2 separate regions of the Homo sapiens genome follow, and region 1 is linked to region 2. Evidence: promoter capture Hi-C in 16 types of primary human blood cells and fetal thymus (Javierre and others, 2016). All regions are on one chromosome and are shown on one strand. The core of a region is centred on a gene start or on the middle of the fragment in contact, and the rest is flanking DNA. Distances in the headings are between cores, read along the strand shown. Region 1 holds the start of ADM (adrenomedullin). Region 2 holds the start of NRIP3 (nuclear receptor interacting protein 3).

The links. The method cuts DNA at HindIII sites, captures the fragments that hold promoters and counts their contacts. A CHiCAGO score of 5 or more calls a contact.
Region 1: a contact is called between the fragment with the promoter of ADM here and the fragment with the promoter of NRIP3 in region 2, in 2 of 17 cell types (fetal thymus and non-activated CD4 T cells). The highest score is 7.7, in fetal thymus.

Annotation. Positions count from the first base shown.
Region 1 is chr11:10,303,218-10,309,198 of GRCh38, reverse strand. It overlaps ADM (adrenomedullin), which reads right to left and starts at 4,126. Exons shown (of 4, transcript NM_001124.3): 1 at 3,970-4,126; 2 at 3,401-3,519; 3 at 3,101-3,250; 4 at 1,802-2,867. The coding sequence starts at 3,498. The coding sequence ends at 2,558. CAND1.11 (a long non-coding RNA gene) reads right to left here and starts at 886. Exons shown (of 4, transcript NR_103765.1): 1 at 526-886. It also overlaps a transcript of SBF2 not described here. RefSeq lists an enhancer at 1,016-1,285 and silencers at 3,535-3,584, 3,605-3,654, 4,335-4,384, 4,565-4,664, 5,155-5,214 and 2 more. The HindIII fragment of the contact is 5,037 bases long and covers 596-5,632 here.
Region 2 is chr11:9,000,093-9,005,827 of GRCh38, reverse strand. NRIP3 (nuclear receptor interacting protein 3) reads left to right here and starts at 1,827. Exons shown (of 7, transcript NM_020645.3): 1 at 1,827-2,066. The coding sequence starts at 1,893. It overlaps NRIP3-DT (NRIP3 divergent transcript), which reads right to left and starts at 1,740. Exons shown (of 3, transcript NR_183663.1): 1 at 1,285-1,740. RefSeq lists an enhancer at 1,731-2,650. The HindIII fragment of the contact is 8,665 bases long and covers 1-3,114 here.

The DNA.
Region 1 (5,981 bases), core at 2,877-5,376, 1.3 Mb before region 2:
GTTTCTGTAGCCCCTTCAGACCACCCAGAACCCACTCACTGGCACAGAAATTCCATGACAGGAATCTTGAGTCACTCTTTCATTCATACATGCCTGGTACCTTCTCAGTGCCTGGCACAGAGTTCCCACAAAGTGAATCTTTTTCTGAAAGGCCCTTGAGGACAAGAATGGTCTGTAGCTGCATTTCTAACCTCCTCAATTCTGGCACACCTCACACAATTATTAAGATCAAACAGGACAATAAACTATATGAGATTGGCATTGTCAACAGCCAGGTGCCCAAACTGAGGTTTTGTATGGTCTTAAGGAAATTCTATGTACTCGAGTTTACTTTCTTCTAAATTGAAACTGCTTTGGAATGAGGTATCTCTGGACCCCAGAGTAGGGCCCCTCTCTCTCAGTGGGTATGCAGTCCTCTTCTGCAAGAAACTAAACATCCTAGCCCCTCGGAGGGGACCCTGTAATGTGCAAAAGCCCCAGAAGGCCGTAGGCTACCCTGGAAACATTTCCATTCTCCAAACTCACCTTCAGGTTTTCTTCACCAGGGAGGTTTCTGAGATCACCTACAAGCACTGACATTAAGGCCAGGGAAGCTTTTTGGAAGGGACAAGTAGCTGGTCTCCATCTTGGGTCTTCAGGATATTGGATGAGACAAACAGGGCACCCTGAAATCAAAATCAGGGGTCCCTCTCTTTACTCTTCCCTTATGTCCTAACTGTTCCTATGTCCCCTGCCTTTCTAGTCACTCAAGGGGGGCTTAGTGTCCGTCTATCGCCGGAACTGGGGTCAACCTTCTCAGAAGATAAGGCATATAAAGAAAGCAAGGAGGAAGGAAGGAGAGAGAGAGAGGAAGGCTGGAGAAAAGTGAAGAAAAAAATGAAAAAAGGCTTGGGAAGGAGGAAGGAAGAGGTGAGCGGCTAGGGGAGGCGGAACAATGAAGGTCTCAGGCCGTCGGAGGCTCACGGTTCCGCCGGCACGTCCGTCCTGCCCGCCTCCAGCCGGCAGCTGCACGCAGCGCAGCGTGTGGGCGCTGAGTCACTGTCCCAGAACAGGGAGCCGCGGTGCAGGTCTGGGGGGTGTAGGAGGACGGCCCTGGTTGGCATCTGCAAACTGTTTCTTTCTCTCTTTTTTTTTTTCTTTCTTTCCTCTTTCATTAAGGCTGTGTGCTGACTCCCACGTAGGAGAACTTATTAAACCGCACGTACTGCTTGGCGGCGCTGGGCCTGTCTCAGCTGCCTGCAGGGGGCGCTACAGCCTCGCCCATGAGCCAGCGGCCCGCGGGCGCTCAGGCCCGGGCAGACCCGGGGTTACTAGGGGTTACTGGGTTTTCCGGAGGTGTCCCCACGCATTGCTAGGGCGGCTTGGAACTTTAACAACCGCGGCAGGCAGGGGGAACGCCTCTCTTAGAAGGCCTCAGAGACCACCCCAACTCTTCGAAGCTCGCTTTCGCGCCGGGTTCTGTGAGCAACCCTATAAATCTAGGACTCCGTTGCGCAACCCGAGAGTCCAGGCTCGCCAACCCACTAGGGCTCCCCCTACCCACCCCCCGCCGGCCGCCACGCCAGGCGGTGACCTCGGGCGTCTCCGCGAAGCCCTGATTCGCACCCAGGACACGTGTTCTGCGCGCCCCACACAGAGAACAGAGCTCGTGACAGCTCAGCCCGCTCAGAGTAGGGCCAGCACCTGCACGCGCCGCTGTCCCACCTTCCCAAGCCCGGCGGCGGGACCCCAAGGCTCCTGGGCGGGCCGGGACCAGGGCACCCTCCCTTCCTAGACGTGAGAGCCGAGCCGAGAGAATGAATCAGCATTGAGACAGTTTATTGGTTTGCTGTTCGCATATCACCCATTTTATGTAAATAGATTATACAGAGACTCGGTGTTTCCTTCTTCCACACAGGAGGTAATCAGTCTTTCTCTTTCATGCACACAAACACACTCACATTCCACGCGGCGAACAACTTTACACCTCGCTGAGACATTCACGTCTTAAAATAGGGGAGGACAATATAATTGCTTTTAAAATGCCCTTAATACAATATATAACGTACAAAAATATCTCTATATTTGAAGTTACAAAAAAAATCTTGACAGCAACAAACTTAAATATTGATAGTTACCTCTGTATGTACAACACGCATTGCACTTTTCCTCTTTAGGTTTTGGAAAGTTCAAGTAATAGTGAGGCTTGCGCCCTGGTGGGGTGACACGCCGTGAGAAATCAGTTTGTGGGCGAGCACGGCTGTGGCTCAGACCCCTGCTCCGGGGGTCTCAGCATTCATTTCTCAGTTTCTCCTCTCCTTAAGCCTGGCAAACACTCGGATTCTTCTGCACCCCGCCCCCTGGGGCACTTGCACCTGAGCAAGGCTAAGGAAGCGAAGCCCCCAGAAGGAGGGGCCCTTGCAAAGCCAGAGCTCGCCGCCGGACGGTGCCTCCCGGACTCAGGGTCTCCGCAGGGCTGTCAGAGCCCGGTCCCCACACCGCTCGGGAAGTCCTTCGTCCCGGGAGGCACCAGCGGGATGCTTGCGCGACTATTCCTTGTACCATGGGCGCCTAAATCCTAAAGAAAGTGGGGAGCACTTCCACTCGGGGGGGCTGGAGCCCCGTGTGCTTGTGGCTTAGAAGACACCAGAGTCCGACCCGGGCCGGCCTCGGGCAGGGAGCGCCGGCGCCGGCGGCCGTAGCCCTGGGGGCTGATCTTGCTCCTGGGGGCGACGTTGTCCTTGTCCTTATCTGTGAACTGGTAGATCTGGTGTGCCAGCTTCTGCACCGTGCACGTCCCGAAGCGGCAGCCAAAGCTCCGGAGGCCCTGGAAGTTGTTCATGCTCTGGCGGTAGCGCTTGACTCGGATGCGGGCGGCATCCGGACTGCTGCGGGCGGGGGGAGGGGGAAGAAAGGCAACTTGAGACCCCATCAAGCAGAGCTTTGGCCCCAACACCGGGAACGGGAGCCATTCTAGAGCCAGAGGGAGCTGGAAACTGCTCGCGCCATCTGAGCTGCGGTCCAGCCCCGACGATCCCCCGGGCCAGGGGAGTGGAGACAGAGAACTCCTCCCGCACACCTTCCTTCCCTCCCGTCCCTGGACAGCACAGGGCGTAGTTACCTGTCTTCGGGGCTTCGAGAGGCACCCTTCATGTCCTGGGGCCGAATAAGGGTCTGGGCAGGCCCGGCCTTCACGTCAGCGAGCCCGGTGGGGTAGCTGCTGGACATCCGCAGTTCCCTCTTCCCACGACTCAGAGCCCACTTATTCCACCTGGAAAACACAAGCAGACCCGATTCGCGTGCGTTCAGGTGACGCCCAGGCCTGTCCCTGCTCCCATTCACTTCTAGACCTTCGGGACCAACGGTCAGTTCCCCTTGCCTGCCAGGTACCAGCAAGGGGGAAGGCGCTGCCCGGACTCACTTCTTTCGAAACTCCGACGCGACATCCAACCGAGCGGTGTCAGCGCCTAGGAAGGCGAGCGAACCCAGGTACATCAGGGCGACGGAAACCAGCTTCATCCCGGCTGCGAAGCGCAGACCCTGGAAAAGAAGAAAGAGAGTCGAGCGTGAGCACCCGGGCCAGCTGCACCGCCCGGGCGGGGCACGGAGGGCGGGCAGGGGCCCCGGCGAGGCGGGTTTAGCCCGCGCTTTCCCTGGCTCAGACGCTTATCTCCCTCCGCGCAGAGAGGCGCCAGAGGCGTTTGCACGCGCCGGCCGGGTGACAGGCCCCGCAGGGGAGGCCGCTGCACCCCGCCAGGCTCCCAGAGGGTCTCTGCTCAACTTCTTGGAACTTGGCTGACGGAGCAGAGGGGACTGGGTCTCTGGACCTCCAGCTGTGTGCACGAGCTGGGCCCAGGATATGGGGTGTATCTATCTCTCAGAGAACCCTCCAAAGTGGGTTGTTCCCCTCACCCAGCGCTCCCAGTTTAGGGCCTTGGCAAGCACTGCCCCCCACCCCACCTCTTAACCCGCAGGGTCTGCGGCACCTACCTGCTAAGAGAGTGATCTGCCAAGTACTTGAAGGAGAAAGTCTCAGACGTCCCACTGGCAATGGCAAAACTCCGAAGTCCAAGCCCAGCTGCAGTGAGAAGCCCGAAGTGGCAAGGCTTGAGCTGTTCTATCCAGTGTCACCAAGAAACCACTGAGTGGCCAGCTCTGGTTCCTGTGCTTTATAAGCGCACGGGTGGGGGAGCGGCGGGGCGGGGCCTGGGCTGCCCGGTTGCCTTCCCTTTCTTTCCTCAGCCACGCGCGCTCCTGCTCTCGGACGCGCGCATTGCTTCCTTTGGGGCTGGAGTTGGGATGGGGGGAGGGGGGAGCGGGGGAGAGGAGGTCCCTCGTGCCCAGAGGGCTTAGGTATGGGCTCCAGGCGGTTGGTGCAGGAACTGCCACAGCCCTCTTTGGGCACAGGGTTCAGACAGTACGCCGGAGCGAAGGGGCGCCACTACAACCTCTTGAGGTCCTTATCCAGGACCCATGCGGCCCGGAGTGCAAAGCCTCCTGGCGAAGAACAGCAAGAGCCCGCGGAAGGGACAGCGCGGATGGCCCGAGCCCTGGACCTGGGGAGCTGTGGCCTCAAGTGGACCGCGCCCCCCTGCCGGCTTGGCGCCTGACCGGGCCGCGACCCCAGACTCCCGCGGAGGGGCCGGGGCAGGGACGGAGCAAAGCCGAGAGGAGCAGGACTCACTAGTCCCCCAGAGGACCAAGACCCCGGCGTTTCGGGGTGAGCTAGTAAGATTTCACGGTAGGGACAAGGCTCAGAAAAGCTAAATTGAGAATTGGGATTTGGAGGGGGGAATTATCTGAAATTTCAGAATTTTCATTTCTATTTGGAAACATAGGAATAACCAAAATTAGGAGGAAATATACTGTTTCATTTTGCCTCCTTGTAATCCTATTATGCCTTATAAGGTCATAACCTGAGATTGTGCCTGGCTGCCTTCATTAATCCATCGTAAACGTGAGGACTGACTGCCAGGGAGCACACTAACGCTTCACGTATGCTAATCATTTTACAGTTTACCAAGCACGGCCACATCCCAGTCTACTTTGAGCTTCACAGCCACCCTTGAGTCAGGCAAGGAAGGTAACATTCCTTTTCCCATTTCAGCAGGTAGAAAATTCAAGCTCAGAGAGGGGAGGTATCTGCAGAGAGGGGAAGTCACCCTGCAGGTAGGAAGCAGCAGAGTCCCTACTCGGCCCGACACGCTAGCACGGCCGACTGGGGCGCGGCGTGGATTCCTCTAGGCTGGGGTCACCAACTTCTCAAGGGGCAAAGGAGAGTCCTAGCCCCCGCCCAAAGAATTTGTGCCTGTTCATGATGAATCACGCTAGACACGTTTGTCACCCGTTTGTGCTCTTTCATCACAGCTTCTTCTCTTTCTTACTTCTCTCCTGGGGGCCAAACTGGGAAGGAAAGGCTAAGCCACGGGGCTTCCTGCTTCGTGCTTGTGGGTTTCTGGGGTCCTACTAACCACTCCTCTAATCGAATGTCCTGAAGCCCAGCGACTCGACGGAGAGGCCAAAGGTGCGAGACCACTAGCCAAACAGGCTTCTAGTCCTCACCTCCCGGCAATTCGCTGTGTGAAGGTGGGCGAGTCATGTCCCATCTCTCGAGTCCCCATCTTAGAGCCGGTCCCCAGCAGACCTTTAAGCTTCCTTCCTACTCTGCCATATGGCTCTGAGCTCCGGTGCAAAGGCGGCTGGGCAGTGGGTCGCGCGGACCTTGCCCAGAGTGGTCTGTCTGGGCCGCGCACTGCTGGCTTAGCTGCCTTTTCACTCTCGGGACTCAACAGTGGACATTGCACCTGGGGAAGAAATGGCCGCGCGGAAGTTATTTAAGGACTCTTCCTGGAAGGAGTCACCTGAGCGGACCTGAATTCCATCTGAGGACGGAGGACAGATTCCGGGCCCTGACCCTGGCCCTGGTAAGGGGTTGGGACGCGGAGGGTTAGAGGAGTGCAGCGCGGCGCACTGGTCTGGATCCGGCCGCCCGGCTGGGCGCA
Region 2 (5,735 bases), core at 578-3,077:
TTAACTTTTTGCCATCCTTTCACTAGTATTTGAGAACCCTCTGCATATTAGGGCATCAATGCTAAGCAAAAAATGGGTTCAGTCACCTTCCTGGAGGTTCCAATCAGTGGAGGAGACAAATATTAATCCAACAACCAGTACCCCCCTACCCCTACCCCCACAGAAAGTGTCAAATGCCCAAGAGATAGATAGTATATAATTAGAGAGACTTCACTCTCTCTGGAAGGTCAGAGAAGGCTTTCCTAAAGAAATGATAATGGAGCTGAGGTCTGGAAGAAGCATAGGAGTTTCCTGAAGAGGGTAGGAGGGGGCACTGCACACAGAGGGAACAGGACAGTCAAAGGCAGGCCATTTGGCAACAGGTGACTGGAAGGAACTGGAAGAAGGCCCATGAGGCTGAAGTACAGAGTGAATATGCAGGGTCTAGGCAGACCATGCAAGAATGTGGGTTTCTCCTAAGAGCAATAGGAAGCCTTTTGAGGTGCTCTTAGCAGGGAAGTGAGATGATCACACTTATCGTTTGAGAAGATTACTCTGGCAGCACAGTGAACAACGTATTGGAATGGAACCAAGGAGCATTCAGGAGGCCAGACAGAAGGTATCAGGTATTTGCCTGTAAAATGGGGGTGATGAGAATACTATCTTACAAGCTGTTGCCAGGATCCAATGAGATACTGCATTTTAAGTGTCTAGTCTAGTACCTGGCACATAGTAAAGGCTCAGTAAGCGTCGATATTGTTACTTTTATCATTGGTTCTTTGCAGAGTGCACATATTTCTTATCCAGGTCTGCTCCTGCGTGATGGGGTGGAGGGAGTAGTTGTGGTTTCCAGAGTGAAAACGTGATTTGTGTCAAATCACAATGTCGAGACCAGAATCCAGGATGCCTGAAGGCCCGATTAGAATGGCTTAAAAGTATGGATTATTCAGGAAGAAAAACGGGTTCCAATCGCTCCTACTAAGGACGCTGGAGGGATGGTGAACGATCCTTTAGATGGTAAGCCCTAGCACTTATTGAGAAAAACAGGTGCTTCTTTGGTCGGAGAGCAGGTGTAGGGCTCGCAGCCGCGTGCGCTCCCGCGGAGGCGGGGGACCCTCGCCACTCCCCCGCCCCACGCCCACCCGCGGGCTTCCGACTGCACCTGCTCCCCCGGCTCGGAAACGCGGGCCGGGTGCCGGGCTGCAGGCAGAGGGTGCCCGGGGGAGGAGGTCCCGAAAGCCTCCTCCACACGCCTGCACCGGCTGCCCCCTCCCCAGTCACGTGGCCCGGTGGGTGGGGACCGACCTGAAGTTGGAGAAATCCGGAGCGCTCCCAACCTCGGAGGGAGTCGCCAGTCCTCCGGGCCCGGGCGGTGGACCCTGGAGCCCCGGCTGGCGGCGTGGAGGTGCGTTTCTGAGAAGCCGAGCAGCGGCGCGGGCGGCGGGACTCGAGGCATGGCCCGGCTGTCGGTGATCCCCGGGTCGGCCACGGCGTGGACAGGTGAGCAGGTACCCGCGGCCAGCGGCAGAGATGGCCGGGGCTGCCAGGGCATCGGGCCCCAGAGCCCACGCCAGTCCAGGGGATGCGGGGCCCCCACGCAGGAGGGGGCGGTTGGGTGAAAAGGCCGCGGTGGATTCTCGGACTGCCGGGTCAGTCCCCACCAGCGCCGCCGCCTCCTCGCCGGCTTTGCCACCGGGTGAGCAGGGGACGCGGGACGCGGGACGCGGGACGCGAGGGAGCCGCGCGGGGCGTGGACTCTGTGCCGGCCCCGCCCCCCGCGCGCGCACTGGCTGCTCCCCGCGACGTCACGCTCGGCTATAAAAGGCGCGGCTCGGGGCCCTTGCGGCGCTGGAGGAGCTCGAGGCTGAGGCTGCCGGGGGGCTGTGGGCTACCGGGCCGCCGGCGCCTCAGCGATGTTTTACTCAGGGCTCCTCACTGAGGGCGGCCGCAAGGAGACCGACATGCGGGAGGCGGCGTCACTGCGACAGCAGCGCCGGATGAAGCAGGCGGTGCAGTTCATCCACAAGGACTCCGCCGACCTGCTGCCCCTGGACGGCCTCAAGAAGCTGGGCTCGTCCAAGGACATGGTGAGCCCCCGCCGCCGTTCTCGCCCCGGCCCCGGCGGCTTCGCGCCCGCCGTTTTCCGAGGCCCGGCCGTTGCGGCTTTCACTGAGTCACGGCCCGGCCCGCCGCTGCCCTTGGCTCGCGGTCGCTGCGTCGCGGATTCCTCCCCTTCCAGTACCCCTGCTGCGGTTTCGGTGGGGATTCCGTCGTAGCTTTTCTAGCTTGCGCTCCCCTCGGCTGTGCCTCCTCCCTGGATGTCTCTTCTCCAGTAGAAAGAAGAGGTCCTGCCCTGCCCTCTTGCCCTCGGGTCTTCTTTCTTTTTCCTTATTCTTAATACCGAATTTTGTTCACGGGGCTTGTGCCTCCTATGCTGTGTGGCTGTTCCTATGACCCAGACAGAGGTGATTCCTAATGGCTTTCCGTGAGGGGGAAAGAAGTGGAAAGAGGGTTTTTTGACAGTTGCCAGATCCAGAGGACTTCTGTTGAATCCATTGTCCCCCTATGCAAAACCCACTTCTCTAGTTTTGGTCCTAACTTTGACCTTCCATCCTGAGTGGGGAGAGAGAAAAGGGGCCAAATGTGAAGGTTTCCTGAACCCCCAACATCTCTTCATCATTCTCCTCTTCCAGCCCCGCCCCCAAGGAGTGGGTAGAGGGAGGAAGCCAGGCTGCTGCATCTCACCGACCAGCTAATGTGTGCATCTGGAGCTGGGGTGGGTGCAGTCTTTTTTTCTAGCACAGTTGTTCCTGGCATTAAGTAGAAGCACCTCAGGACAGGGGGCCTGGGGTCAAAGATGGTACTGTCCTCTTTCTATAGAATGGGATGGATGGCTAAGGGTTACCAATATAAAGAACTGTATTTGTCATCCCTCAGCCACTGTAGTGGTCCTGGGCCAAGTTTATGTTTAACTTTGTAGTTTTATCTGGAGTTTTCTTGTAGTTTGATTGTTTTCTTGAATTTCACAATCGCTTTATTCATTTGGGTGGTAATATGTGAAACACTAATTAAATGTCTTTTAACAAATGAAATAGGTGCTCTGCATAATTTTTCTAGTATTTTTTATTTTAAGCTTTTGAAATATTTAATTTTGGATGTGGTTGTCGGCCCTAGTTCACTGAAATTGCCATTTCTGGCCCCAGGAGGGCAGAGCTTCTGCATCCATTTCCTTTTTTTTTTTTTTTTTTTTTTAATTTAACAGCTCTAATGATACACAGGTACATTATATTATACACAGTATAATATAATATACAAAAATTTTTCTCCTCCCTGCCATTAGTTACTTCTGTGCAGAGTTTGTCTACTTCAGTTATCTTGCTCTGTTTTTTTTACAAGTTGTGTTTTTTTGTTTTGTTTTGCTTTTTGCACAACCCACAGGATAGTTTATCTGATTTATGCTAACCCAGAGTGATAAGTGATTGAAATGTGCTCCTGCAAAAGAGATAACTCTCTTTTCCCTTCTTTCACTTTAAAGCAATCTCGATTCATTTAACAAATCAGGTTCGAGAAGTATTCTTTCCTTCAGGCCAAATAATCCTATCCTAGTTCCTAGAATGCTCAGCAATCAATAAAGAAGGAAGTATTATATTAAGAGAAGAATTAAAATACAGAGTTTTTAAATGCTGGATTTGGTTGTCCCTCGTTGTCGAGGAGTTTCCTAGCCCTGAGAGCTACCTGAACTTCCTTCTGCCTAGGATTTCTTATACTACTTCATGCTGTGTAAGAATTCCATCCGCTTTTCTGACTCTAGTCTGTCTCAGTTGAGTCACAAAGGGCTGATAGCATACAGCACAGGCAGCAGGCTGCAAAGAGGAAGGAGCCTCAAGAAGCAGGATATTGCCTTGAGTATGACACATACACATGACAGTTGACTGTAAGGCTCTGAATCATGGTTCACGCTTTCTGTGCCCCACCGTCATGGAGTTGATTTCCCTCTCTCACTGTTTTCACACCTATAATGTACAAGTGATTGCACAGAACAGCCAGGTTACAGAAACCAAGGCAGACCGAGGTAGGGCTAGGAGAGCCGCAAGCGCTGGGGTGAGGCAGCATGCTTAAACTCTCTTGGAACTGTTGTTGCAGCCTTAGTACAATCTTAGAAGTGACCTTAGAAGTACATTATTATTCTTTTACTTTATAAATACATGTGGGATAGACCAGTGTTGACTCAATTTTCTCTCACTGCAAGGGAAATTTGGAGGATGTTAAAATTAATTGAATAGTTCTTACTTGGAGTAGTTTATAGTATAATCTCGATAGAAGGAGTCCAAGAAAAGGGAGAGGATAGCATCAGAGGGAGATAAGGAAGAGAGAGGAGAAATTAGTTGTTATTGACTTTTGGGTTTGTGAAGATTGTAGGTTGTTTTTCCTCATACCAGCAACCTATATTTGAATATACCGCTGGGATTTCTGAATTATCTACCTCTTACTATGCTGTTTCTGTAATGTTCACTGCTTGATACCAGCCTGCCAGCTCTTTTAGGACTGGCAGAAGGCAACCATAGGAAATCAAAGGGGGTCATGTTCTCTTGGCCCCAGGAAAGTGCCTTTGCCTATTCCTGTGTATCTGGAGTTGGCTGATACAAAGTCTTCTGTGGAAATTATATTTTTGTCTGCCCCTTTTGCTTTTATCCTTTTATCTTGTATTGTTCATTCTGTATTAGATTAAGAACTAAAACCAGAGATATGAGTGAGTAATATTATATTTGATTTTTTTTTTAAGAGACGGGTTCTCACTCTATTGCCCAGGCTGGAATGCAGCTGCAGTCACATCTTACTGCAGCCTCGACCTCGCAGGCTCAAGAGATCCTCCCACCTCAACCTCCTGAGTAGCTAGGATTACAGGTGCACACCACAACACCAATCTAACTTTTGTATTTTTTGTAGAGATGGGATTTTGCCATATTGCCCAGGCTGGTCTTGAACTCCTGGTCTCAAGCGATCTGCCCACTTTAGCCTCCCAAAGTGCTGGGATTACAAACATGAGCTACCACACCCAGCCCTGATTTTTTTTTTTAACTCAGTGAAGCTGGAGAAAAACATCTCCGTTCTTGGAAATTTGCCTATTGTAATTTATCTTGTTTTAGCTACCAGGTTCATAAAAGTTTTTCTCATTGTGCTAAGGACTTTTTAATTTTTAAAAACAGTCATGTTATGTGGTAATATGCTGTCTTTCCTAAATGATATTATACTTACCTGTAGGCATTAGGCCATATTCTTACTTGTCTGGCAATAGAGTTTTTCTTTCCTACATATGATTGCTTCTGATCATAGCTAAATGCTTTTTCAAAACTGACTAGAATTAGGAATGATGCTGGGGGAAAGATGGTTGAACACAGTAAAGCAAACTTACCATAAAATACCTGAACAGAATCTCTGTCTATTAGAGCAGGTCTGTGTGGTGTGCCCTATAGATTAGCTATCCATATCACCACAAATCATGGGCTGGAGAATTTCAGAGGCTTAGAAGAGAAGCGTGAAATACCAGTATAACACCAAGATCTGGCACAAACTGAAGATTTGCAGAGTCGTGATTGCATCCTCGTAATAGCAAACATTATTTGAATACTTGCTGTGTTCAGGACACAGTCTAGGGGCTAAGACACAAATAGGAAGACAGAAAAGTTTCTCATTATAAACAGGTTTATAGGTTGGGGGCAGGGAAGGACAGATCAGTTAATTTAATATACAAATAT